4 separate regions of the Homo sapiens genome follow, and all the other regions are linked to region 3. The links are contacts of gene promoters, found by promoter capture Hi-C in blood cells and fetal thymus (Javierre and others, 2016). All regions are on one chromosome and are shown on one strand. The core of a region is centred on a gene start or on the middle of the fragment in contact, and the rest is flanking DNA. Distances in the headings are between cores, read along the strand shown. Region 1 holds the start of ZFP90 (ZFP90 zinc finger protein). Region 2 has its middle 19 kb from the start of ZFP90. Region 3 holds the start of TANGO6 (transport and golgi organization 6 homolog). Region 4 overlaps DERPC (DERPC proline and glycine rich nuclear protein).

Evidence for each region. Contacts are between HindIII fragments. The CHiCAGO score rates a contact against its expected background, and 5 or more counts as called.
Region 1: a contact is called between the fragment with the promoter of ZFP90 here and the fragment with the promoter of TANGO6 in region 3, in 8 of 17 cell types (non-activated CD4 T cells, erythroblasts, M1 macrophages and 5 more). The highest score is 9.8, in non-activated CD4 T cells.
Region 2: a contact is called between a fragment that was not itself captured here and the fragment with the promoter of TANGO6 in region 3, in 10 of 17 cell types (megakaryocytes, naive B cells, erythroblasts and 7 more). The highest score is 7.6, in megakaryocytes.
Region 4: a fragment that was not itself captured here is called in contact with the fragment with the promoter of TANGO6 in region 3 in 5 of 17 cell types (megakaryocytes, activated CD4 T cells, endothelial precursors and 2 more); the score reaches 6.5 in megakaryocytes.

The regions. Positions count from the first base shown.
Region 1 is chr16:68,537,458-68,540,723 of GRCh38, forward strand. It overlaps ZFP90 (ZFP90 zinc finger protein), which reads left to right and starts at 1,834. Exons shown (of 5, transcript NM_001305203.2): 1 at 1,834-2,022; 2 at 2,301-2,368. The coding sequence starts at 2,336. The HindIII fragment of the contact is 12,761 bases long and covers 1-3,266 here.
Region 2 is chr16:68,518,130-68,521,636 of GRCh38, forward strand. No RefSeq gene overlaps it. Among named protein-coding and RNA genes, the nearest start is that of ZFP90, 19 kb to the right of the region's middle. RefSeq lists enhancers at 2,746-2,825, 2,846-2,895, 2,936-2,985. The HindIII fragment of the contact is 3,788 bases long and covers 1-3,507 here.
Region 3 is chr16:68,842,149-68,845,721 of GRCh38, forward strand. It overlaps TANGO6 (transport and golgi organization 6 homolog), which reads left to right and starts at 1,383. Exons shown (of 18, transcript NM_024562.2): 1 at 1,383-1,563. The coding sequence starts at 1,470. RefSeq lists an enhancer at 1,354-1,623. The HindIII fragment of the contact is 15,665 bases long and covers 1-3,573 here.
Region 4 is chr16:69,127,717-69,131,300 of GRCh38, forward strand. The region is part of intron 1 of DERPC (DERPC proline and glycine rich nuclear protein); the gene reads right to left. All of the region lies in intron 1 of CHTF8 (chromosome transmission fidelity factor 8), which reads right to left. Among named protein-coding and RNA genes, the nearest start is that of CHTF8, 3.1 kb to the right of the region's middle. The HindIII fragment of the contact is 1,291 bases long and covers 968-2,258 here.

The sequences.
Region 1 (3,266 bases), core at 584-3,083, 300 kb before region 3:
CTTGCCTCAGAGAGGCCTCCCGGTCCACTCTAATTCATACTTGTGAATTATGCATTCTGCTAATTCCAGACCACTATATTCACAAAGCAGTGATAGAAAGCATTCATTAATTTTTATATATATTTTTTGAGACAGTCTCGCTTTGTCGCCCAGGTCGGAGTGCTGTGGTGAAATCACAGCCCACCACAACCTCTGCTTCCCGGGTTCAAACGATCTTCCCACCTCAGCCTCCCAAGTAGCTGGGACCACAGGCGCACACTATTGCAACCAGTTAATGTTTGTATTTTTTGTAGAGACAGGGTTTTGCCATGTTGCCCAAGCTGGTCTTTTAATTCCTGGGCTCCTCCCTCCTCAGCCTCCCTGTGCTATTGACGTGTTATTTCATTACTTGTTAGCCCCTTGCGCAGGATTTTGTGTTTGGGACAAGCCAACAGTGATGGAAATTTTCTCCCTTTTTTGTTTTGTTTTTTTTGAGATGGAGTTTTGCTGTTGTTGCCCAGGTTGGAGTGCAATGGTGCAATCTCGGCTCACCACAACCTCTGCCTCCCAGATTCAAGCGATTCTCCTGCCTCAGCTTTCTGAGTAGCTGGGATTACAGGCATGCGCCACCAAGCCTGGCTAATTTTGTATTTTTAGTAGAGACGAGCTATCTCCATGTTGGTCAGGCTGGTCTCGAACTCCTGACCTCAGGTGATCCGCCAGCCTCAGCCTCCCAAAGTGCTGGGATCACAGGCTTGAGCCACCGCACCCGGCATAAAGCATTTATTTTTGAATGTTCATATTTTTGATAAAGCAGTGTGACATCAGGAACATTTCGTTGCAGTCATTTTCTACCATGTTGGTATGCAATGCTCTAATGTTAAGAAATCAAGCTGAAATCTAGGAAATGTAGCCTGAATGTCTGTGATATATAAGACATAATTACATAAACGTAATAGCTGTATCTAAAAGTTGACCTATCTTTGTGTTGAAAATTTCCATCGGGCCGGGCGCGGTTGCCCATGCCTGTAATCCCAGCACTTTGGGAGGCCGAGGCGAGTTCGAGACCAGCATGACCAACATGGAGAAAACCTGTCTCTACTAAATATACAAAATTAGACGGGCCTGGTGACGCATCGCATGCCTGTAATCCCAGCTACTCGGGAGGCTGAGGCGGGAGAATCGCTTGAACCCAGGAGGCGGAGGCTGCGGTGAGCCAAAATCGCGCCATTGCACTCCAACCTAGGCAACAAGAGCGAAACTGTGTCTCAAAAAAAAAAAAGAAAATTTCCATCATTGTTTGCTTGTCCCAAACAAAATCCTGCGTAAGGGGATACGAAGTAATGAAATAACACGGCAGTAGATCTGCCTTTGCACATTGCTCAGGAGGCCACGGATTTGTCCGAAGTTTCTTTTTTCTCTAAAATGAGAAATGGAAAATTGCCTTTTGAAGAAGATGTAAATGCCCCACCCTCTGACGCTGTCTCACTCCCTTCCTGTGTCACTCTTACCGCTGAAGTCAGGACCTGACATTATCTTGTTGACATGTTTGCGTTTTTATCGTCAGCCTCGTCGAAAGGGGCGTACGATTGCTCCCCGAAACCAGGGTCTTTCCCGGCCGATTCCCCAGCTAGCAACAAGCCCCTTGCAAAGAGGAGGCGGACAGTGACTGGAATACAGGGACACGCACACTCGAGCCACACTGGCCGCCTCCCTCGGCCCTCGCAAGGGTCCCTAACGCGCCTTCGGAAGCCGCCTAGGCGGGGCCTGCGCGCGCGGGCCTCTGGGAAGTGTAGTTCGCGCGCCCGGCGTGGACCCGGGGTTGCAGGAGCGAGGCTCCGAGTGCGCAGGCGCACTTCCAGTTCTGCCCCACCGCTGCGGCCATTGTCCGACCCCGGTGCGGCTGAGGCCCCTTTGGGCAGCCCCTCCGCAGATCAGAATTGGAGATAACCGAGGCTTCGGCGGGGGCGGGAGGAGCTGCCCGAGGCTCTGGGTGGGCCGGAGGTCGCGAAATCCGGAGCCCCCCAGAGGCGGTGATTCTGAGTGCGCGGGTCTGGGCGGGACCCCTCCTGGGTTTGGCGGGTGTCAGCCGGGCCTCGCCCACCACCCTGCGAAGGGGACTGGGCGTGGCCGGAGGGGGGTGTCCGGGAGGCCGCTGAGCCTTTCATTTCGGGGATGGGGAGCGGCAGGCCCGGGCTGGTTCCACGGTCCTCGCCACCATCTCCCCTGGAGATGTGGTTTAGGGGCGGAGGTGGGGCGGGGCGGGGCGGGGTGGGGTCGGTGTTGCAGCGGGGTGAGTGGGCCCTGTCCTTTCTCCCCAGCTCCTGCCCCGGAGCCGGGCCCTGGCGAGGCAGGAATGGCCCCGAGGCCTCCGACCGCCGCGCCCCAGGTGAGCAACGCGTTCCTAACCTCCTGGGCATCCCATCCATCTATCCATCCCATCTCCCAAGGGTGTTTGGAGCAGTCATTGTTCTCTGCCTGGCGACTCCCTTACTTGCTTGGCTCGATCGGAGCCTCCTGGCCATGGAAAACCCCAGGCTTTGGGGAGCTGGATTCCCAAAGGGGAGGCTGCTCTGTGGGGTAGAGAGGGCCAGTGTGGTGCGATCTTGTGGGAGGAGTTGAGATTGGATGCGTTGGGAAGTGTCAGTTTTGAGAGTCCTGAATGCCACGCCAGTTTTTTGAACTCTTGTCAATAAGAAATGGAGAGAGTGGGGTCACAGGATGGAACACTGTAGAGGAGGAAGTGACTGTCGGCAAGTGTGGAGAGAGGAGCCCCAGCTTCTGACCCAGGGCCCATAGAGAGTCCGTAAGGGGCCGTAGAAGCCTGGTTAGAACATGTCTAGGAAGAGGCTGGAGATGGGCTTTCTTGGGCAAGGAGGCAAAAACAAAACAAAATAAAAAACAACCAAAAATAAAACCAGGGCTGATTCTCCCAGAGCTTTTTGTGTCTGTCCTTTTCTGCTTTAACAAAAATGTAATAGAGCAACTCACTCCCCACCGCCAGAAGTCCAGCCTTCACCTTAATGTGAGGCTGATTCGTGAACCCATTTATTCTTGTGGCAGAGGGGGCATTTTCTAGAAGCGTCACAACTCTAAGGTTATCCATTGATTTACATATTGGTGAAAATACATCAAGATCCAGATGGTATCTGTATCTTTGAATCTACATTCTCTTTAGAATTAAGGGAAAATGACAGATTGTAGTTGCTAGGTGTGTGAGACATCAAGATCAATTCAAATAAAAATACCAAGTTGCCAGGTACAGTGGGTCACACCTGTAAGTCCAG
Region 2 (3,507 bases), core at 374-2,873, 320 kb before region 3:
TGGCAGGGGACAGAACTGGAAATCAGAGAGTGCCAGCCCTGTGAACTGAGGTGTTTCTTATTTGTTTTTTGCAAGAAGCTGTACTTATATTAATTCATTCATTAACCCATTCATTCAGGGCATGAATATTAAAGGCTGAGGATTAATAAAATATACAACTCAGCTTCCCCCCGGCTCACAGGAAATCCTGGCCAGCTAGGAAGACCGACAGATGAACAGAAAGTTGCAATGTAGGGGCCAGGTGCGGTGTCTTATATCTGTAATCCCAACACTTTGGGAGGCCAGTGTGACAGGATGACATGAGGCCAGTTAAAGACCAGCCTGGGCAACAAGCAAGATCCCATCTCTATAAAAAATACAAAAATTAACCGGGCATAGTGGGACACGCCTGTTGTCCTAGCTACGTGGGAGGCTGAGGCAGGAGGATTGGTTGAGCCCAGGAATTCAAGGCTGCAGTGAGTTATGATTTCACCACTGCACCACAGCCTGAGTGACAGAGTGAGGCCCTGTCTCAAAAAAAAAAAAAAAAAAGTTGCAATGTAGGGCCACATCCTGGGCCTAATACCTGGTGTTCAGTAGAAGTTTGTGGAATAAATACAGGATTGAAAGGGTGGTTTTGGGAAGGTGCCAGAAAGAGTGAACATCTAGCTGGGTCTTTTTCTTTTTGAGACGGAGCCTCGCTGTGTCGCCCAGGCTGGAGTGCTATGGCGCAATCTTGCTCACTGCAACCTTGGCTCCTGGGTTCAAGCAATTCTCCTGCCTCTGCCTCCCGAGTAGCTGGGATTATGAGCACCCGCCACCACACCTGGCTAATTTTTGTATTTTTGGTAGAGACGGGGTTTCACCATGTTGGCCAGGTTGGTCTCAAACTCCTGACCTCAAGTGATCCACCCGCCTCAGCCTCCCAAAGTGCTGGGATTACAGGCATAAGCCACTGTGCTCAGCCTTCTAGCTGGGTCTTGAAGGATGAATAAACTCACCAGGAAGGCAAGCAAGTCCAGGGCACATCCAGGGACTGCCTGTGACGAGGAGAAAAGGATCACGTGTAACAAGGAGATGCTGGTTACATTTGCTGGGCTGGGGAAGGTTGCCCAGGGAATGGGGACAGGGTGAGAAGAGGAAAAGGGCAAGGAGGGGCCCTGATGAGGAGTGACACTCAGGAAGGTAGACTCTGAAGAGAAGTCCTCCCCCACCCCTCAAGCCATCACTGAGATCTCTACCCCAGGCCAGCGCCTACTCATCCTTCAAGGCTCAAGCATCACTTCCTCCAGGAAGCCTTTCTGCCCAGCTCAGGCTGTGGTCCTCCCCCTTCCATGTGGTGCTCCCAGCACACTGCGCCACCAACCTTGTGACTGCCCACCTCCAGTCCTGTATTGGGTTGGCTTGTCTGTATGCTTGCCTGTCTCCCAACAGAGGCTGTATGCCCAGTTCTGGTGATGCTGCCCCACCCCATGCACTAGTGGCTCCCTGGATTCCGGCCGGGCTGTGCTGCCTATGGGATTCCATCACACAGATGCACGAGGCCTGTAAGGAAAAGTGGATCCCAAAGCCAGAGTCTGAGTCAAGGGTTGCTGGGGGTGGGGTGTGGACAGGGGGTTGGCCGAGGGAAGGGTATTTTACTCCACATCACATAAGATTTTTACACTCATTGCCAGGCACAGTGGCTCACGCCTGTAATCCCAGCACTTTGGGAGGCCGAGGCAGGTGGATCACTTGAGGTCAGGAGTTCAAGATCAGCCTGGCCAATATGGTGAAACTCCAGCTCTACTAAAAATACAAAAATTAGCCAGGCCTGGTGGTGCACCCCTGTAGCCCAGCTACTCTGGAGGCTGAGGCAGGAGAATCACTTGAACCCGGGAGGCGGAAGTTGCAGTGAGCCAAGATAGTGCCACTGCACTCCAGCCTGGGCGACAGAGCGAGACTCTGTCTCAGAAAAAAATAATAATAAATTGCACTCTCTCTTCTTTGTTTTTTTTTGTTTTGAGACAGAGTCTTTCTGTCGCCCAGGTTGGAGTGCAGTGGCATGATCTCGGCTCACTGCAGCCTCCGCCTCCCAGGTTCAAGCGATTCTCCTGCCTCAGCCTTCCAAGTAACTGGTATTACAGCGCCCACCACTACGCCTGGCTAATTTTTGCATTTTTAGTAGAGACGGGGTTTCATCATGTTGGCCAGGCTGGATAATCCACCCACCTCAGCCTCCCAAATAACTGGTATTACAGCGCCCACCACTACGCCCGGCTAATTTTTGTATTTTTAGTAGAGACGGGGTTTCACCATGGTGGCCAGGCTGGATAATCCACCCACCTCGGCCTCCCAAAGTGCTGGGATTACAGGCGTGAGCCACCGCGCCCGGCCAGACTTTTACACTCTCGAGAGGGACTTTGGAAGTGCCGTGGGTGACAGCCCTTCTGAAGTCCCCAGGACCCTGGCTGGAAGGGATGGGTAATTAGAGCTGTTGTGCCTGGGTGACAAAGCCAGAGAAGCCTGGTCCCTGGAGGAGAAACCGAAATGTCTGGAGAGGTGGGGCGGGTGGCCAGGCTCAGGGTAGAGAGAAGCAATACAGAGGCCAGGTAAGAGAGCCGCCCCCTCTCTGGACAGGGCTGCAGGTGAAATACGCCGCCCGAGGTAAAGGAAAGAACTGCAGGTTCCATAAGTGTCCGCTAGGGGGCTACCGAGGATACACCAGCTGGGTCGCCTTGGTAACCGCGGAGCTGCGAATGTGTTGTCCCCACGCGGTGGCGGGGAGGTACCAAGATCGCCCCAGGCGCGGCGTATCAGACGCTGGGGTGGGGGCGGGGGTCTGTGGCCATCAGCCCCAGGCAGGCCGTGAGCCCAGGCCAAGGTCCAGGCAGAGATGAAGGACCCAGCTTACTTTCACCTTCGTGTTTTCTCACCTCTGCTCAGGTCACACCTTCACTGGTTGAACTGGACTTAGCAGTTGTGGTAGGAAAAATTAAAATGGTGTTTTGGATCAGCCAAAACAGCTCCTGCATTGTACAGATGAAATAGCAACCCAGAGAGGGAAAGTCACTTGGAGATCACACAACAGCAGACCTGGAAACAGAGCGAAGAGAAAGTGGAACAGAATGGAAGAAAGCAAAGCAAATGAGCAAAGCCCAGTCAAGCAATGTGTTCACTTTATTATCATCATCATCATTATTATTATTATTATTATTTTGAGACAGGGTCTCACTCTGTCGCCCAGGCTAGAGTGCTGTGGTGCAATCATAGCTCACTGCAGCCTCAAACCTCGAACTACTGGGCTCAAGCCGTCCTTTCACCTTAGCCTTCCTCCTGTAGCTGAGACCACAGGCTCATGCTACCATGCCCAGCTAATTTTTGTATTTTTTGTAGAGACAGGCTCTTGCTTTGTTGCCCAGGCTGGTCTCGAACTCCTGACTTCATGTGATCCTCCGGACTCAGCTTCCCAAAGTGCTGGGATTAAAGGTTCGAGCCACTTCACTCAGCATTCTATTTTTTAAATTACCACTTTTGAATTTAAATAGT
Region 3 (3,573 bases), core at 133-2,632:
TTTTAGCGTTTTTCCCTCTCAGGCCCTGCATTCCAAAATGACAAAGAAAAGAAGAAACAAGAGTCATGCCAAAAAGGGTAATAGCTATGCGCAGCTTATTCTCGCCCAAGGACCGGACCATTAAGAAGTTTGTCCTTTGGGCCGGGCGCAGTGGCTCACGCCTGTAATCCCAGCACTTTGGGAGGCCCAGGTGGGCAGGTCACTTGAGGTGAGGAGCTCAAGACCAGCCTAGCCAAGAGGGCGAAACCTTGTCTCCACAAAAAATACAAAAATTAGCCGGGCATGCTGGGGCACTCCAGTAATCCCAGCTACTCGGGGGGCTGAGGCCAGATAATTGTTTCAGCCTGGGAGGCAGAGGTTGCAGTGAGCCGAGATCACGCCACTGAACTCCAGCCTAGGCGACAGAGCGAGACCCCATCTCAAAAAATAAAATAAAAATAAAGGTCCTGCCCTCAAAAACATTGTCCTGTGTCTGCGGCATGACTTTCAGACAACATGGTTTTTCAACGTCCCACCAGGATTTATGTAGGTGAAAACCTGTTTCCGATAATCTGAATCTCAAATCCATTCTGTTTTACATATAAAAACAGTTTGGCGGAGGGCATGGTTTTGATAGACCCTGAATTTTCGAGGAATGCATCAACCATGAAAACAGAACACAGATCGAACTTTTACTGGGAACTTTACTAAGTTCACTGAAAAAAAAAATCATATTACCCATAACAACATTTGTAGCTTTACATTCACGATGGATATATATGCGTGTGTACGTCTGTACTTAGGTTTTGTTTGTTTGTTTGTTTTGAGATGGAGTCTCGCTCTGTCGCCCAGGCTGGAGTGCAGTGGTGTGATCTCGGCTCACTGCAACCTCGACCTCCCAGCTTCGAGCGATTCTCCTGCCTCAGCCTCCCGGGTAGCTGGGACTACAGGCGCCCGCCACCACGCCTGGCTAATTTTTGTATGTTTAGTAGAGACGGGGTTTCACCATATCGGACAGGTTGGTCTCAAACTCCTGACCTTGTGATCTGCCCGCCTCGGCCTCCCAGAGTGCTGCGATTACAGGTGTGAGCCACCGCGCCCAGCCTGAATATTGTTTTTCTTATCCATACTTCACTGTAAGCAGATGGAAGCATCTGTCTGCTTCATTATGTCTGCCAGTGTTGAGTACCTGAGTATTTTCATATTGAAATATAGCTTTAATGATACATTACTTCTCTCTTCCTTCTTTACATAGCGGTTAATCATATTGAGCTTCTGAAATTGTGCGCGTGGGCAGATTAGCCATTTTTGGGTTCCCTCTTACCCCCCGGACTAAGCCGGGACGGAAAAAAAATGTGAAGGGGGCGTTCCCGATCGATTTGGCCCCGCCCCATAGTGTGCCCAGAGCCTTCTGCCACACTTAACATGGCGGCGGCGGCGCCCTGCCGAGGCGCCTGAGCGGGTCGCGAGCGTGGTGTTACACTCCAGTCATGGCGGCCCGACAGGCCGTGGGCAGCGGGGCTCAGGAGACATGCGGTCTGGATCGGATTTTGGAGGCATTGAAGCTGCTGCTGAGCCCGGGAGGTGAGAGGACGCATCTCCGCGCCGGGCTGGACCCGGGACTCTCAGGGCCGCCCGGCTTCCGGGGCTGCCCTGCCTTCCGCAGCGTGCGCCCCTTAGGCCCGCCTCGGGACCCTCCGCCCGCTGCTGGGGGCTTTGAGCATTGTCTATGCCCGTCCTCATTACGTTCTTGAGGAAACTGAGGCTCAAGGAGGGCGCGGGATCCGTTGACTGCTGATATTAGCCAACATCTCTTGAGCATTTGCCTTGTGCTGGGCTCTGTCAGGCGGGGCCGTTATTTCATTCAGTGCTTACTGCAGCGCTCTTGGGAGGGGGATATGGACCCAGCTCCAGAGAGGGTAGGGCGCCCGCGACGTAGAAATGTGAGGTCCTAGCCGCGTGAGGGCGCAGGGGCCAGCATGGACCCTTGAGATTTGTACGAAATGCCAAGAAGTCCAGACATCGGAAGCAGTGACGTTTGAAATGGGTTTGGGGAGAGTATTTAGGGGTTACCAGGCGCTTTTAATCTTTGTGGTGCGTGGACAGTTTCTTCCCAGTCTAAAATCTGAAGGGATATTGGGAGTGGTTGAAGCTGCTACTCCTTTTGCGACTGAGGACACCCAAGGCTCACTGAAGAAATTAAGTAACCTGTCCAAGATCACGTGGTCAAATTAGGGGCAGAACACGGACCTAGGCCCGAGATCTACTGAACCCCCTTCTCAGAATCAGACAAATTGTTCAGTATAGGGGCTCTGATGTTATCTGGAGCTTTTGGAAAGGACGTGGAAGATAGAGCTCTGCTTATCACTGGGGTGTATATTTGGGGGAAGGGATGGGAAGGGATCTGTAGAATTAGCAAGGGCACATGAAAGGCCAAAGGGGATCACCTCCCAGTCTCAGATTTTATACTTAAAACTGCAAAAACTTCTGCAAACATTACACCACACCAGCGGGAAGTGAACACAAGTTACTAATATTAGTAAATGAGTGCCTACTAAGTATCAGTCCCCATAGTAGGCTGTTGACATACACATCATTTAATCCTCATTACGATCCCCTGGGATCGGTACTACTTGTATTCAATTTTTACGGATGAAGGACCAAGGTTCAGGTACATTGGAAATTGCCCAATGTCAGACTAGTAAGTGGCAGAATTTGAATTTAGGTTATTTCCACTAAAAGTATGGTAAATATGCTACATTGTCTCAATTAAGAGTCAGACTGCAAAATAGAATTTTAAGTTGCTAATCGAGAGGTCACTTGTCTTCTAACGGCAACTCTTTTTTTTTTTTTTTTTTGAGATGAGGTCTCACTCTGTTGCCCAGGCTGGAGTGCAGTGGCACAATCTCGGCTCACTGCAACCTCTGCCTCCCAGGTTCAAGCGATTCTCCTGCTTCAGCCTCCCGAGTAGCTGGGATTACAGGTGCACACCACCATGCCCAGCTAATTTTTGTCTTTTTAGTAGAGACGGAGTTTTGCCATGTTGGCCAGGCTGGTCTCGAACTCCTGACCTCAAGTGATCTGCCTGCCTTGGCCTCCCAAAGTGCTGGGATTACAGGCCTGAGCCACTACACCTGGCCTGCAACTCTCTATTGTATGACTGAGAACACGTTTAAATAAGCAAAAATCCTGAAAGTAATCATCTGTTATGAAACATGTATATTATGCTTCATTTATAGAAGACTCTCTAATCTCTATGAGTATGTGGTGGAGTACACATATATGTACTCATTTAATTTACAGAAATTCAAGCATTCCTATTTGAAGAGGAATTAGTTCGTGAAATTATATTATTTTGTACATGTAGTCTTATATATTATATGAATCTGTCTACTATTTTATCATATTAGCTGCTTAGGGAATTTAAAAATATCTGTAGTGGCTGGGCGAGGTGGGCCATACCTGTAATCCCAGCACTTTGGGAGGCTGAGGCAGGATCCCAGGAGTTTGAGACCAGACTGGGCAACATAGTGATACTCTGTGTCTACAAAAAACTAAAAAATTGGCCAGGCATGGTACTACACACCTGTGGTC
Region 4 (3,584 bases), core at 363-2,862, 290 kb after region 3:
CTCCTGCCTCAGCCTCCCAAGTAGCTGGGACTACAGGCGCCCGCCACCACACCCGGCAACTTTTTGTATTTTTAGTAGAGACAGGGTTTCACCATCTTGGCCAGGCTAGTCTCGAACTCCTGACCTCAAGTGATCTGCCCACCTTGGCCTTCCAAAGTGTTGGGATTACAGGCGTGAACCACCGTGCCCGGCCAAATTTCTCTTTCTTCTTTTTTTGAGACAGAGTCTCACTCTGTCACTCAGGCTGGAGTGCAGTGGCGCAATCTCGGCTCACTGCAACCTCCGCTGCCCAGGATCAGGGGATTCTCCTGCCTCAGCCTCCCGAGTAACTGGAATTACAGGCACCTGCCACCGCGCCTTGCTGATTTTTGTATTTTTAGTAGAGATGGGGTTTCACCCTATTAGTCAGGCTGGTCTTGAACTCCTGACCTCATGATCCACCCGCCTCGGCCTCCCAAAGTGCCAGGATTACAGGCGTGAACCACAGCGCCCGGCTAACTATCTCTTAAGAGCAGAGTTCAACCCCAGATTTGGCTAGGACTAACATGTCTTTCGTTAGGAACAATAATTCTAGGTTGACAAGGTTAACTGCAGAGCCAGGGAGAGACTTCTGTGATGTAGCTTTTCAAAAAGATTTAAATTCATTATATTACAGTGTGGTATCAGACTCACAGGCCACAACTCATGTGTAGCCTTGGAAAGATAAGAAGGTATAAAGAAAACCAAACCTTTCCCTGCAATAAATTATGTATCCTGTCCCCAATCTCATGAGGAGGGAAAAAAGTTTTCTACTTGATCTTTATGGGCCTTCACGCAGCTAAATGAACTAAACAATACATAAATTCTGTATTCCTAAGTTAGTCAAACGACTTTATCTCAGTAAAGGAAACTTTTTTCCCCTCAAAAAGGCACCAGCATTCAAAGAATCAATCCTGACCCACAATGGGAACCCTACCCAAAACTAAAAAGCTTTGGCTGTAATCAGACCACTCTAGAATATACCTTATTTAACCAGCATTTGGCTTCTCTCTCTCTTTTGAAATTAGTAACTATTATTATAAAAAACCCGCCAGGCACGGTGGCTCACGTCTATAATCCCAGCACTTTGGGAGCCCAAGGCGGGTAGATCATGAAGTCATGAGTTCGAAATCAGCTTGACCAACATGGTGAAACCCAGTTTCTACGAAAAATACAAAAATTAGCCAGGCATGGTGGCGCTCACCTGTAATCCCAGCTACTCAGGAGGCTGAGGCAGGAAAATCGCTTGATCCTGGGAGGCGGTAGTTACAGTGAGCCGAGACTGTGCCACTGCACTCTAGCCTGGGTGACAGAGCAAGATTCCATCTCAAAAAACAGACAAACTGAAACAAAACAAAAAAAAAACTGGCAAATCAAAGCACCACCATGATTTCTTAAGAAAAGCCCAGGCAGAGGCCGGGTGCGGTGGCTCACACCTGTAATCCCAGCACTTTGGGAGGCCGAGGCGGGCAGATCACGAGGTCAGGAGATCGAGATCATCCTGGATAACACAGTGAAACCCCCTCTCCAGTAAAAATACAAAAAATTAGCCGGGCGTGGTGGCAGGTGCCTGTAGTCCTAGCTACTCAGGAGGCTGAGGCAGGAGAATGGCGTGAACCCAGGAGGCAGAGGTTGCAGTGAGCCGACATCACGCCACTGCACTCCAGCCTAGGCAACAGAGCGAGACTCCGTCACAAAAAAAAAAAAAAAAAAAAAGGAAGAAAAGTAAAGTCCAGGCAGAACATTATTTTTATAATACAAAAGGCTTCATTTCTCACAAGCTAGCCTCGTTCACTTATCTGTATCCTCTTATTTCACCCTGACACCCTATGCTTTTAGCAAGGTCTTCTCACTCCCATTTCACAAATGAGGAAACAGGCTTAGAGGAGCTAAATGTTAACTGGTCACACAGCTACTTAAGTGGAGAGCTGGGATATGAACCCTAACCCCTCCACAATCTGGCCCCTCTTGCAGTTCTCCTCACACAGCCCCCTCCTGTAAAGCACCTCTGTATGATAACTTCCCTTGCTTTACAAATATTAGCCTCGTTCTCACAGCATCTCTTACAAAATGGCAAAGTAACCTATGGAAAGACCTTGTAACTTGCCACCAAAGTATTATATCTGTGGGGTAGGCAGCTAAAAACAAAGAAGCAGCTTGCTTTTTATCATACCCAATTGAGATGTTTCAGTTTTTGAAACTTTTAGAAAAATCTACTCAATGCCACCTCTAGGACGCAAAGCTTTACCCTCTGCTCCTGAATGTGAAAGTCAAGAGAATAGAGGACATTCTTTGTCAAGTATTCATTTTAATCTTCCACAGAATTTAATTCTTACCCTCTGGTCTCTGAATTGTTAAATATTAAATTGTTAAAAGATTACTGTCTTACAGAGAACAGAACAGCCTGAGCAATGATCCTCATAATCCTTCAAAATAAAATGTGGCAGAAGAAAGTGTGATATGTATCCAATTAAACCGAACATATGGCTTATAGCAAAAAAGAGGCTTTGACTCAACGGTTTAACCTCAATACAAATAACTAAATTTTAATAAAGCTAAACAACGTTTTAGAAATTTTGTTTTTTTTTCAAACAGGAAACCAAGCCTTTAAATTCTCAACCCTTAAACATTCTTTTCTAAACTGGGGTGAAATCAATTATTTCAGAGTGTAAATATTCACAATTTTCTATTTTTTGCTAGGCCAACAGTTGGCATTTATTGAGCTTTTGTTTTTTGATCCCAGGGTGGATACTTTGTTTACGAATATAGTGAAGCACTCACTTGTCATACAGACCTGGATTCTGTGATTTTGCCACCTATCCCATATGTGACAGTGGGTAGTTTAACCTCACGTGTTTTCCTAACAATACACTGGGCATAAACACCTATTTTGAAAGGCTGTTGCAAGAACGAGTAATGAATGTAAAGCTTTTAGCACATTGTCTGACACATGGTAAGCCTTCAGGGTCAAGCTATCGATTTCCCAGAGAAAGGTGGCATTTTCTTAGTATTCATCAAATAGAATGTCTTAATACTACACTGTGTTAGCATATTAATGTTTATAACGGACTAAAGCATTCTACGAAAGCAGCAGGTCATCAGAATAAAATCAAGTTTTCATAACAGTAGAATTCAAACATGGCAGTTGTGGTTCACCAAACTGCTTCAGGGATTAAGTTCTGGAAGGTAATTTCTCTAAATATGATGACTATGTCTCTATGTGCCTTTCTACCAAGTGAACAACTCAGAACGTTTTACATACAACCGAATACAGATTATTTTTATTTGTAGTGTTATCGTGGTTTTGTAACTGAAGGGGACAGGTCTATACTTTTGAAGGGGATCTTGTCTCTTGAAAGGCTTATGTTACTAAGTCTAAAATCCTGTTTCCAAATGAGAATCTTGCTCCCCTCCAAAAAGGGGCTTATGGAGGGTTGGTGGAATTGAATGCTTCCAAACTTTACATTAGTGAAGTGTGTTCAAAAACGTGTGTGGATGCTATGCATACACGTGATACTTCCCATCACATTTTAGGATTCCCACGTTGGAGGGAATCAATTACTGGT